3 separate regions of the Homo sapiens genome follow, and all the other regions are linked to region 2. The links are contacts of gene promoters, found by promoter capture Hi-C in human tissues and cell types (Jung and others, 2019). All regions are on one chromosome and are shown on one strand. The core of a region is centred on a gene start or on the middle of the fragment in contact, and the rest is flanking DNA. Distances in the headings are between cores, read along the strand shown.

What was found. The method cuts DNA at HindIII sites, captures the fragments that hold promoters and counts their contacts. A contact is called where the count stands out against the background at its distance.
Region 1: a contact is called between a fragment that was not itself captured here and the fragment with the promoter of CCKAR in region 2, in 2 of the 25 tissues and cell types used here (IMR-90 fibroblasts and thymus).
Region 3: a fragment that was not itself captured here is called in contact with the fragment with the promoter of CCKAR in region 2 in 3 of the 25 tissues and cell types used here (H1 embryonic stem cells, IMR-90 fibroblasts and dorsolateral prefrontal cortex).

What each region holds. Positions count from the first base shown.
Region 1 is chr4:26,617,980-26,622,752 of GRCh38, forward strand. TBC1D19 (TBC1 domain family member 19) reads left to right here. Exons shown (of 21, transcript NM_018317.4): 4 at 2,634-2,709. Among named protein-coding and RNA genes, the nearest start is that of TBC1D19, 36 kb to the left of the region's middle. The HindIII fragment of the contact is 4,224 bases long and covers 1-3,540 here.
Region 2 is chr4:26,488,666-26,493,053 of GRCh38, forward strand. CCKAR (cholecystokinin A receptor) reads right to left here and starts at 1,819. Exons shown (of 5, transcript NM_000730.3): 1 at 1,491-1,819; 2 at 568-819. The coding sequence starts at 1,602. The HindIII fragment of the contact is 14,703 bases long and covers 1-4,388 here.
Region 3 is chr4:26,701,547-26,706,229 of GRCh38, forward strand. The region is part of intron 13 of TBC1D19 (TBC1 domain family member 19); the gene reads left to right. It overlaps LOC124900179 (small nucleolar RNA SNORD74), which reads left to right and starts at 763; the gene lies at 763-842. The HindIII fragment of the contact is 4,051 bases long and covers 809-4,683 here.

The DNA.
Region 1 (4,773 bases), core at 179-2,678, 130 kb after region 2:
ACAGATTTGGGTAAGTCTTCGTACACATTCATGGCTTTCGCTGGGAGAGTGCTCAAGCAGTAGACCTGGGTACCTCTGAAACGTCCTAAACATACAGTTCTTCTTTGCCCTCTTAGTTTGAAATGCTACTGTATGTTTGCTATTGTGCACAGAGCCAGGTGCTGTTGTTAATGAACAGGCTAGACAGTCTTTGCCTCCTGGAACTTACATCCCAGTTGGGCATACAGACTTTAAAGAGGCAATTACAGTACAGTAAAATAAGTGCAATGATTAGGGAAATACAAGGAACACGTAAGGCCGGCATTTAACTTAGATTTGGGGATGTCATGGTGGCTTACCAAAGGAAGCAATATCCAGGCTGAGATCAGAAAGCTAAGCTAGAGTTTCTCAGGGGAAAGAGTAGAGAAGAAAAGCACTTCAGGCAGAAGGGAATAGCAGGCTCAGAGATTTAGAAATGGAAAAGAGTGTGGTGCAAACATGGTACAAAAGTTTGTATGGCTGAATGGTAGCAGGTGAAGGGATCATGGCTAAGGACGATTCTAGATTTATAAACAGGATTGTGCCTCTTAAGACTTTGTAGACTGGATCCTAAAAGCATTTGGGTGCCATTTAAAAATTGTAAGTAAAATAGTAACATGATCAAATTTGCATTTTATTCATTCAGCAATATATTGGTTATCTACTGTGTACCAGGCATTTTGCTCAATGCTGGAGTTACAATTACTGGTGAATAAGGAAGACATCACTTCTGGCCAACATCCAGGCAAATTGGTGAATAGGTTGAAAACAGTCTGGAAGCGCTTAGGAACCTGCTGGATAAATGTAGGCAAGGAATAATGGTTGCCTAAAATAGTTTACTGTCAGTGGGTAGAACATCTTAGGTTATTTAGGGAGACTTGGGGGACAAGAAAAAATAGAGTCAAGTGTGCTGTATAAGTTTCTGTGCATTTTTCCTATCTGGCAACTCTTATCTCTGCATATTACTAAATGTAAGCTCCATGAGGGCAGGTATTTTAGCTAGTTTTGTTCACTTCTGTATCTCTTTTATATTGAGTAGGTTGTCATTAAATATTTCTGAAAAAATAAATATCTAACTTGATTTTGGTCTTAATATGAATGACTTTCAAGTTGTCTCCTCTTGTTACCTGTATTTTGGATATGTTTCTTTGATCATTAAATAACTATTAAGATCATCAGTAAAGTCTCTCAAATTTTAATCCTAAATTTCTTTTTTTTTTTTTTTGAGACGGAATCTTGCTCTGTTGCCCAGGCTGGAGTGCAGTTGTGCAATCTCGGCTCACTGCAAGCTCTGCCTCCCAGGTTCACGCCATTCTCCTGCCTCAGCCTCCCCAGTAGCTGGGACTATAGGCATGTGCCACCACGGCTGGCTAATTTTTTTGTATTTTTAGTAGAGACGGGGTTTCACCATGTTAGCCAGGATGGTCTCGAGCTCCTGACCTCGTGATCCACCCACCTCGGCCTCCCAAAGTGCTGGGATTGCAGGCATAAGCCACCACGTTTGGCCTTAATCCTAAATTTCTAAGCTTTATTAAATTTTACATAATTACCATTAAAAGTGGAAGCAAATGGTATATTGGACAATGTGAGATAGTTTTTAAACTGTCTTACATATAAGACAAGAAATATCAAGGTATCTAGAGACTTAAATTTTTTTTCATTTGTGAATGCGAAAGATACATGAAATGTAGATTTTAGTAGAAAAATAATTTGCCAGAAATAATCAATTTGTGAAGCTGTCTTATAGATTAGGTTGGATAGGTTGCCTTTCTCTATTCCAGCAATGTTTCTATGGACAGTTTAGCCTTTTACATGTAGGCTCCAGGACAGATGCAAGTGGTTTTGAAAATTATTAACCTTTTACATGTTTTTGTCCCACTTTGGACCAGGAATTTATTGAGAATTCAGTCTATGGTTCCTGATTATTGGAACATGACTGTTTTGCTGTAGGTACAAGTCTGATGACTAATTTCAAGAGGAGTTATATATTGTTGTGAAATGGATTGGAATCTCCAAATAAACATTGAACCATCATGTCTTCCTACTGCCTTTTCTATCTGTGATTTCATACCACTCTGCACTTCAGTCATTATGTTCCAGTGGCCCTGACTTTTTCTGATCCTTAAACATTTCAAGCATTACCTCCTCAGAATTCTTGTGCTTGCCATCCCTTTGCCTGGAATATTCTTCCCCCAGATCTTTGCATGGTTGGCTCCTTCACACTCATGTCTTGGTTTAAATATAAAATCCCCAAGAGGACTTCACTGACCTCCAAATTTATTGTGTCTTATTACCCTGCTTTCATTTTCTCACGGCACTTACTGCAATCTGATATTATTTTATTTGTATGTGTTTGTGATTATTGGCTTTCTTCACGAGAATGTTACGTCCATGAGAACAGAGAATGTTATCTCAATCACCACCTTATACTTAGTACCTAGAATGGCCCAAGTATTTGTTGACTACATCAATCTATTTTCTTAATAAAAACAGTACATTTTGAATATAAAATGAAATGTTACTGGGAAAACAGTTTATAACATGGACTACAGAGGTAAGTAATATCTAACCAAGAGAATAATGTGTGATATTTAGCTGCCTCTTTTTGCTCCTAGGTTTCCTTTACCTAGTCATCCTGCTGCACCTCCTGAACATCTTAAAGAACCTTTGGTATACATGAGGAAAGCACAGGTTGGCTATTGTTCAATTTCATTTTATTTTTTCATGCCAAGTTATGTAATACAGAGCAAAAGATCATTACTGATGTCAGGAGTATGTATTATTAATTATGAAATACTGGGTAAGAACCACTAAATTTATGTTAATAGTATTTGTATATTCTCCCATTTTATATTCAGTAACCAAGGATCATACCTATTTAACTATGGCAACCCTGGAAAAAATGGGGTAGAAGGGGAAAAATCATCTACTATACTGGCCTGCAATTTAAAATATGGTACAAGTGTAATGTGGCAATCTATTCTTCATGGCCTGTGATATTAAAGGAATGAAATGTGAATGAACTGACACCCTCTTTCCTTAAAATTTTGGCCTTTGAAGCCAGTGTTATTGAAAGTGTATTTAAAATATATTTGTTCTCGCAGTAGGCTGTCACCTATTAATTGTATGCTATTGTAGAACTCTGATAAACCTGCTATCAAAATGGGTTGGCAAAAAACTAAGAATAAAATGACAAAATAAAATAATTTAAGTATAAAAACTATGAATAGTTGTTAAAATGGAAGCTCAAGAAGTTCTAGCACATGCCCCTAGCTCTTTTAACTGTCCTTCATCTCAGCACAGCCTCACTCACCTCCCCTCAGTCCAGTCCTGTCCGTAAGCCTTCCTCACAGTGCTGGTTGAGTAGGACTCTGTGACTGCCACTGCTGAGGCACGTAATGAGCACCACAGTCAGTCGACCTTCATTCTTCAGCATAGCCTCAGAGATGGATTTTTAAAACCTTTTTTGGTATGGAATATTTCAAAGGTACCTCAAAGAACTCCCATGAACCCATCACTCAGCTTCCACAGTTATCATCATGGTTCTTCTGCTCTTGAAAATTTTCTGCAGAGTCATCACATTCCACAACAGTGGAAATTAGGCACTTTTTTCGACTTTTATTTTTATTTAAAAAAATCATCAAAAAATTAGATGGTGAAAAGAAGCAATATAAATAAAAACCTTGGAGATATTTGAGGAAGTATATATTTCTATCTCTAGGTGGTATCTTTTAGGGCTGGAAATCAGTTAATGTTTATTTATCAATTTGTCATAAAGCATAATAAATAATACATATATGAAAGAATTGTGGGTTTTTTTTTGTTATAAAGATTTGGAACCAACCCAATTGTCCAACAACGATAGACTGGATTAAGAAATTGTGGCACATATACACCATGGAATACTATGCAGCCATAAAAAATGATGAGTTCATGTCCTTTGTAGGGACATGGATGAAACTGGAAACCATCATTCTCAGCAAACTATTGCAAGGACAAAAAAACCAAACACCGCATGTTCTCACTGATAGGTGGGAATTGAACAATGAGAACAGATGGACACAGGAAGGGGAACGTCACACACCAGGGACTGTTGTGGGGTGGGGGGAGAGGGGAGGGATAGCATTAGGAGATATACCTGATGCTAAATGACGAGTTAATGGGTGCAGCTCACCAACATGGCACATGTATACATATGTAACAAACCTGCACGTTGTACACATGTACCCTAAAACTTAAAGTATAATAATAATAATAATAAAGATTTAAACTCAGTAAAATAAAACTAAGAAGGTTGGGCCTGAATATTTTTTAGTGAAATTGAAAATTTCTAAACAGTATAGAGAAAGTATCAGTTTTAACATACTAGGTGTAAGAAACAAAACATAAATTTTTTTTTTTAAATCATGACTGAAAAGAAGAGATAGAGAGGTAAATAATAAGTCGACTCTTAGAGCTTACTGCTAGCTGCTGAGAATATATGTGAGTGATAGGTACACGTATGATACTCCTCTCTTTTCTTTCTGGACTTTCCCATGTATATCACGGATCTGCAAACTACAGCCCCTGGGCCAAATCCAACCTGCCACCTATTTTTATAGGGCTGGCAAACTAGGAATTTTATTTTTACTTTTTTTACATTTTTAAGTGGTTGAAAAATCAAAATAAGGATAATCTTGTGACACATGAAAACTATATGAATCACTAAGATATGTTTTATTGGAAAATAGTCACGTTCATTCATTTGCATATTGG
Region 2 (4,388 bases), core at 569-3,068:
CTGCCAGAGATGGCCCCAGCTTTGGGGAGAACAGGCTGGGAAGTGAATCCTGAGAAGAGAATCTGAAACTGCGATAGAACTGGTTTTCAAATAGCCCCTGTTCCCTAAGAAAACAAAAGAAACAACTGCAAAGAACCCTCCTCCATCATCCTCACCCTCCCTAGAAGCCAGGACTCAAGTTGTGTATAGATCAGGACACAGTCAACAGCTTCCAGAAAGGGATAGAGCAGCTTAAAGTCACTTCTGACTTCAAACAGAAGCAAGCAAGTCCCTCTTCCCTTCAAATAGAAGCAAGCAAAATCAACTGCCCCTGTGTTTTCCTATCAATTTATTTCACTCTTAGAAACTGACCTCCAACATGGATGATGGGGACCGACTTGTGGGGAACGTATAAGGATGACTGTCAAGCCAGCACCAATGTCCGTGCACACAGCCATGCACAGCCTGATGTTCTGTGATTCAGCCCTCAGCAGGGCTCCTTTGCTGTGATTGTCAGAGGTTTGGGAAGGTCTGGGGCTGAGTGGGGTCTGGGGCAAGCTCCAGAAAGAGTCACCAGCAGCAACTTACCCATGAAGTAGGTGGTGGTCTTGCAAACGGCGCTCCCGAAGATGAAATCCTTGAGCAGATTGGGGATGAGGTTGAACGGCATGCAGAAGAGACAGAGCATGAGGTCGCTGACAGCCAGGGAGAGGAGGAAGATGTTGGTGACCGTCCGCATCCGCTTGTTCCGAATCAGCACGGTGATGACCAGCGTGTTTCCCAGCACGCTGAGCAGGAATATCAAGGAGTACAAGAGAATCTGCACCGCTGGCTGCCACTCTGCAGAGAGAAACAGGAGCAAGACGGAGGGATGGAGGTGATGACAGCAGAATGCTAAAACCGAAGCCAAGGGTGAATTCCTGCCGATTTTCCCCCCACCGGGGTGTACATCACTGGACCCACGATTCCTGTCCTGGCAACATTTTGCGGAAACAAATTGAGGAAAGCAGAGACTGAATTATTTTCTTTTTAGAAGGTTGGTTTGTTAAAGGATCACTCAGGGAACCACTTTTTCTTAAGAACAAAGCTCCTCAAGTGAACAGTGATCACTTTCTTTCCTGGCTGCTAAGCATTATTTCACTTTAATCACTTCATGCTGGGTTTCCCCCCAAGAAAAGAAAACAGCTGCATGGTGACAACACCTTTTCTGCTGTGCTTGTAAGTTCAGGCTTTGACACTTGTAGTCCCTCTTGCTTCACTCAGCTTTTCCTCCCCTGCTTTTGTTCCCCCAAGTCCTATTCATGAATGCCCAACTCCCCCATGGGGGACAATAAGAATATTTGACTCTATTCTGCTTTTTAATCTCTTCTCCAAACTTCTGAACATATGACTTTATCTAGCCTTGTCTCACAATGACTTGGTTATATATATTTTTTATCAGCCTTGCCTTTGCTGATTTCTCCCACAACTCAATAGTTTCCTGAATTAAAATAACAGCTTCCGACACTTACCTTTGGAAGGACGGGGCTGATCCAAGCAGAAAAGCGTCTCATTTTCGAGCCCGAGTTCACAGGGAGGAGTGATGTTGCTTCCATTCACAAGAAGGCTGTCAACCACATCCATCCTTGCCTGCTGCTTTCCACCAAGTGCTGGAGAGCTGGTGAATTGCTCACTCCCGGCTCATTCCTCTAATGACCGAAGCGTCTCGCAGATGCAACCTGCCGTGGAGGAGCAGGGAGGGAGTGATTTCCAGGTGTGGGCTTTTTCAGCCATTCCTAAAGGCGACTTGAGTTCACCTCACTCACTCCAGCATTTGTACTCCTGTTGTGGAAAAGGCAGTGAGCACAAGCCAAGCCCGCTCCACCTTCACCCCGCCCCACCTCCCCCGGCCCTTTCCTGGGCCAGTCTTAGGGCCCTGAGTACAGACAGCCTGGCTACCCGTTAACCATTCTCAGCGTGTGGCTGCTTTTTACACACATGTGTACATATGCACGGACACACACACACACACAGAGGCTTCCCCAGTACTCCTCTATATAGGAACCCGTCACCATCCCAGACATATGCAGAAGAAAGCCCAAACCGGCTGTGTGAGACAGGAACAATTAACACGGTAACAGATCCGATAATGCAGACCATCAGGCCTAAAGAACACGGAGGGACTGTGTTCTACCTCCTTATAGAAAAGCAATTAGTGCCTTTTTAGCTTTGGAACCATGCCCGGTGGTGTGTGTGTGGACAGAACTGCTGGCTGGTTGTTAAGTTGCTACTAAACACAGTGTTGTTTCTCGTGGTCTCTGCCCTTGTTAACTAGGATTGAGGCACTTTTGAACATAGGTACCTGGGTCCTTATTACAAAAGACGTTAGTGAGATTTCCTCTTCATTCATGAAGCCTTGCATTCAGCACATCTTCATTGAGAGTCAATCATTTGCCAGGCACTTTTCTAGCATGTCAGCAAATAATGAGCAGAATTATTTCAGGTAGTAAGTACTACAAAGGGAGTAAAGCAGGGAGATGTGATGTATACAAACAGATTAGGGGCTGATTTTTTGGGGGGCGGGGACAGGGTCTTGCTCTGTTCCCCAGGCTGCAGTGGAGTGGCGCGATCATGGCTCACTGCAGCCTTGCTCCCTGGCTCAAGCAATCCTCCTACCTTAGCCTCCTGAGTAGCTGGGACTACAGGCACACACCACTAAGCCCAGCTGATTTTTTTAGTTTTAGAAGAGAGGAGGTCTCGCTATGTTGCCCAGGCTGGTCTCAAGCTCCTGAGCTCAAGCAATCCTCCTGCCTTGGCCTCCCAGTGTTGGCATTACAGGCGTGAGCCACTGCACCTGGCCTGGGGCTGCTGATTTAGAAGGGGTAGTCAGGAGAGGTCTCTTAAGGAGGGGACTGTGATCTGAGACTGAACCACAAGAAGGACAAAGTCTTGTGAAGATCCCAAGACAGCTTCTCCCAGGCAAAAGGAGGAGCACTTTTAGCAGAGGTAACAGCAAGTGCAAAGGCCCTGAGGTGGGAATGAGTGTGGCCCCATTGAGGTACAAATAGATAGAAGTAGGAGTGAGTGAGAGGCAAACAGCAGGACGTGAGATCAGAGAGGGGGGCCATCTCAGGGTCCTGGGTGTTCCATGAAGCTCTGTGGTGCTGGAAAGCCCTTCAACCTCCATTGCACAGATTATGTCCTCAGTTCAGACCCTTTGGAAAGCAGACGACAATGGCTGTGAAACCTGCGTTTCTGACGCCCTGCTTGGCTGTGCTGAGACTTGGTCCATTTGCTAGATACCCGTGGGGCTCCTTGTGTACTGACAATGCTTCCACTGGCAGAGCTGCATGCTACATCTTGCTGAGTCTCTGCCAGACACAGAGGAACTAACGCATTTTTACTGTCAGTGTGGGGCTGGAAAGACAGTGGTGCCTCTTTTCTTTGAAACCATGAAGACCACATGGTTTGGGGCATTTAGTCACAGAAACAAGAAGGGGAAGGGACACTGGAGAAGCTGTGGATGTTATTGGGAGGACAGGCTTTGGCATCAGACAGACTTGGGATCAAATCCTGGCTTCACTGGTTACCTGCTAGGAAATACTGGGCAAATTAGTTTCCTTCCTTCCTTCCTTCCTTCCTTCCTTCCTTCCTTCCTTCCTTCCTTCCTTCCTTCCTTTCCTTTCCTTTCTTCCCTCCCTTCCTCCTTTCTTTCTCTCTCTCTTTCTTTCCTTTCTTCCCTCCCTCCCTCCTTTCTTTTTCTCTTTCTTTCTTTCTCTCTTTCTTTCTTTCTTTCTTTCCCTTCCTTCCTTCCTTCCTTTCCTTTCTTCCCTCCCTTCCTCCTTTCTTTCTCTCTCTCTTTCTTTCCTTTCTTCCCTCCCTCCCTCCTTTCTTTTTCTTTCTTTCTCTCTTTCTTTCTTTCTTTTCCTTCCTTCCTTCCTTCCTTCCTTCCTTCCTTCCTTCCTTCCTTCCTTCCTTTCCTTTCTTCCCTCCCTTCCTCCTTTCTTTCTCTCTCTCTTTCTTTCCTTTCTTCCCTCCCTCCCTCCTTTCTTTTTCTCTTTCTTTCTTTCTCTCTTTCTTTCTTTCTTTCTTTTCCTTCCTTCCTTCCTTTCCTTTCTTCCCTCCCTTCCTCCTTTCTTTCTCTCTCTCTTTCTTTCCTTTCTTCCCTCCATCCCTCCTTTCTTTTTCTCTTTCTTTCTTTCTTTCTCTCTTTCTTTCTTTCTTTCTTTTCCTTCCTTCCTTCCATCCATCCTTCCTTCCTTCCTTCCTTCTTTCTTCTTTCTTTCTTTTTTTTTTTTTTTCTGAGACGAAGTCTTGCTCTGTTGCCCAGGCTGGAGTGCAGTGGCATGAGCTAGGGTCACTGCAAACTCCACCTCCCAATCGCAAGCAATTGTCGTGCCTCAGCCTCCCAAGTAGCTGGAATTACAGGT
Region 3 (4,683 bases), core at 1,584-4,083, 210 kb after region 2:
TGGGGTTATCTTTTTCATTATTGAGAAGGAAGCTTTCTTCTTTTATCTAAAAGCTTAATGTTAGTAATTTGTAGGCTAATTGATATTTTACCATCATTTTATCGGGCTCTAGATTTCCTTAGATTTTAGTATAGTTGTAATGAATCCTTTTTTATGAACTGACTCATAAACAGATTAGTTAATGTCACACAAAGACATAAAAAAAACCCACATAAACTAAATATCTACCACTTGGCAAAAATTTAACTAACTCACTAAAAGTTTTTGGTCCTTCTTATGCCATTTTGATCCAGAACATGAAACTGTTGTGACACCAAACATATGAACACATAAATTATAATATCAGCCAAAGGCCAATAATGGCATGACTCATAGTAATCTGTGACTATTCTACTTCAGTGTGTGGGTAGAGAGAGTATACATTTGAGAAGTTTGTCCCATTTGGTCACCAGAGATAAGAGGATTGCCATTTTTAAGTTACAACTACAAAGCCTCTTTGGTGGTGGTAAAAAGGGGCTTGACAGGTAATAAATCTGCCTCATTTGGTAAACAGAGTCAGTGAGGGCATCTGTTTTAAATGAGAGCAGTAACAAGTTCTCCAAATAATGCCAGAACTAACCCTTAAGGGAGCATTCATTTTTATCTTTTCCACATGTAAGTGACTTACATGCAAGAAAACTTCTAAGAAAACTTATAAGTAACTGAACTAATAAGTGGATGCATATTTTGAGAAAAAGCAGAATGAGCATCAGTAAATATTTATTGATCTACCTCTGATGAAACCTGTGTTGGTGGGGACATCTGAGAGTGTTGATGAATGCCAGTGACTCTGATAGAAAAAAAATACTGATTCTTATACTATGTGTAAACGATACCACCTTTGATGGGCTTACATTCTAGTTAAGGGGGCAGGACACAAACATACAAAATATTCTGAAATTGTTTTAAAGTGTTTATATAAAGCATTAGGTGCTAAGTCAGTATCACAAACAGTAAGTACTATAGGAGTATGCTTTAACCTTTATTTTCCATTTCTATTAATATTTTAGTCCAAATTGTATTGTTTTTAGATTTTACATAATTTTTTCAGTCATAGGTCTCATGACTTCTCCTGCTTTTAGTACTTTGGAAATGACTAAATAAGCCTGTTTTAAATGCTGTAGTAAGAACACTTATCACAAGGTCTATCCTCTTAATACCTTTTTAAGTGTACAGTATAGTAGTATTAACTATAGGCACAGTGCTGTACAGCAGATCTTTAGAATTCAGTCATCTCCCATGACAGAAACATTATACCAATTGAATAGCAGCTCCATATTCCCCCTGCCCCCGGGCCCAGCAGTCACCATTCAACTGCTGCTATATGTTTGACTGTTTTAGATACCTCATGTAGTAGAATCATGTAATATTTGTTCTTCTGTGACTGCCTTATTTCATTTCATATAATGTCCTCCAGGATCATGTGGCCTCATGTAACTCATTTTCTTCTCTATAATGACTGAATAATATTCCATTGTATTGTATATACTACATTTTCTTTATCCTTTCATCTGTCTAAATAAGCTTTAATGTGGATCTCTATCCCCATAACATAAATAGATGGATAATTACAACATCTAAGCATCTCTCTTTGGGAATTATGTAAAAATAAATTTTCCTTATATGGATAATTACTAAGAAAACACTTTCATGGTGATACTTTTTAATTATTCATTTTACAATTAGTCTGAATTATTAGAAATTTATTTTAACTAATAAAAACGTATGTAATTGTATGCATTGTAAATATTCTGTTTTCAGAAATTGAGTTCTGTTTTTTCCTTTCAGAAAAAATTGTGTGTGTGCATGTGTGTGTGTGTGCATGTGTGTAATAAGACAGAAGAAAGCCTGTTCTTGTCATTAATTACAGGCATTCCTTTAGCAGAGCTGCCTAGCAACACAGTTGCTGTATAGGAAAATTGTCAATGTATAGCAAATTTAATATTCCTGGCCATGTTCTTGGTCATAGCCGATTTATTGGATTTTGTGACTACACTGCAAAATTAGATGTCATGTGGCATTGCTGTGTTTACATACAGATGAGAAAATATCCAGTAATCCTTCTTTAAAGAAAATCTGGGCCTATGTCCGGGCACGGTGGCTCATGCCTGTAATCCCAGCACTTTGGGAGGCCAAGGCGGGTGGATCACGAGGTCAGGAGATCGAGACCATCCTGGCTAACATGGTGAAACCCCATCTCTACTAAAAATACAAAAAAAAAAAAAATTAGCTGGGCGTGGTGGCGGGCGCCTGTAGTCCCAGCTACTCGGGAGGCTGAGGCAGGAGAATGGCGTGAACCAGGGAGGTGGAGTTTGCAGTGAGCCAAGATCGTGCCACTGCAATTCGGCCTGGGCAAAAGAGTGAGACTCCGTCTCAAAAAAAAAAAAAAAAGAAAAAAGAAAATCTGGGCCTATGTTACAAGGATACGCAGGCACTTGTTCCTGAGTACCTCATGTTAATGTTCCTAAATTTTACAGGCAACAATGCTGAATATTATAGAAATAATGTTTTTAGTAATAAGCCAATCCTTTAGTATTCCAGTGTTAAGTTAGTTTTTATTTTGCATGAAATTCTTAAAGTACCCATTTTTAAGTGTTGTAAGTTTTAAATTATGTCAGTTTCAAAATGTATTCAAACAGAAGACAACTCTTATTTAATGGAAGTAAACTGAGTAGTTTGACAGTACCATTTTCAGACTTCAATACTGAGTGGAATTTTCACAAACTACGTAAGTTAACATATTGTCCAAAGTATATAAGATATTCATAGGAAAGAATTCATATATAGTAAAAGGGAAGACATGGAGATTTACTCTTTCTGTTGTATGACGAATCTTCCATCATATGCTTGGTTTATCTGGCATATACTTAGTAGTAGTCCTGAGATACTGAAGTGTGACATAGTTATAGATATTTTAACGCTATTGAATGGAGTTAAAAAGGTCCAAATGTGTCAGATATTCTTTGTTCATGTATCTAGTTAGATTATTTGGTGTATGTTCTGATATAGGCACTGTGTTAGGTGCTAGCAAAAGAAGATATTTATTAAGCTCACAACTTAGTGAAAAATGAAGAGAAAGACAAATTCATAGTTATAATTTGATAAATCCCCCAATAGAAATATATATAAATTCTATGCAAATATAGATAAAGGGAAAATAAATTCTGGGAGTAGTGCAGAACTTAGTGATGGCTTCAGAATAGAAATATAATATTATAAGAAATGAATTTTATTTCAACTTTTTGAGGAAGTGTCATACTGTTTTCCACAGTGACTATACCATTTTATATTCCAACAATAGTGTACAAAGTTTCCAGTTACTCCACATCATCGCCAACATGTTACTTTCTCTTTTTTTGATAGTAGCCATCCTAATGGGTATGAAATGATGTTATCTTATTATAGTTTTCATTTGCATTTCCCTAATGATTAATGATATTGAGCATCTTTTCTTGTGCTCATTAACCATTTATATATCTACTCAGGAAAAAAATGTCTATTGAAGTCCTTTGGCCATTTTTGGATCAACTTGTTTTTTTTTGTTGTTGTTGTTGTTATTGTTGAGTCTTAAGAGATCTGTAAATATTCTGGTTATTAATGTCTTACTGAAAATGTGATTTGTAAATATTTTCTCCCATTTGTGAGTTGACTTTTTACTCTGTTGATAGTGTCTTTTGATGCACAAAATTTTAAAATTTTCATGAAGTCCAGTTTGCCTAATTTTTGTTGTTATCATCTGTGCCTTTGGTATTGTATCCAAGAGATCACCAAATCCAATGTTGTGAAGATTTTGCACTATGTTTTCTTCTATGAGTTTTATAGTTTTAGAACTTGCATTCAGGTCTTTAATCCATTTTGACTTAATTTTTGGATATGGTGTTAGATAAAGGCCCAGCTTCATTCTTTTGCATATAGATATCCAGTTTTCCTAGCACCATTTGTTGGAAGACTGCACTTTCTCCCATTGAATGGTAATGGGAGAAAGGACAAGCACAAACCCTTGTTGTAAATCATTTGACCGTATATTCAAGGTTTTATTTCTAGTTCTGTTCTATTCTGTTTGTCTGTACATCTGTCTTTATGCCAATAGCACACTGTTTTGATTATTATAGCTTTCTAGGAAGTTTTTAAATCTGGAAGAAATAGGAATCTTCCAGATATGTTCTTCTTTTTTCAACATTGTTTTGGCTATTTGGGGTTTCTCGTAGGGTCTTTGGTGTTGGTATCAAGGTAATACTGGCCTCACAGAATGAATTAAGAAGTGTTTTCTATTTTTTAATTGTGTGGGAAAGTTTTTGTTTTGTTTTGTTTTGTTTGTTTGTTTGTTTGAAAGACAGGATCTCCCTATGTTGCCCAGGCTGGAGTACAGTGACTGTTCACAGGCTTGATCATAGCACATGCACTGTACCCTTGGACTCCTGGCCTCAAGCAATTCTCTTGCCTCAACTCTCTGAGTATCTGGGACTATAGTTGCACATCACCATGCCCAGATCAATTTTTTGAAAAGTTTGAGAAACATTGGTGTTAGCTCTTCTTTAAATGTTTAGTAGAATTAACCAGTGAAGCCATCAGGACCAAGGCTTTTCTTTGTCAGAGTTTTGATTATTGATGAATATTTTTACTAGTTACAGGTCTGTTCAGATT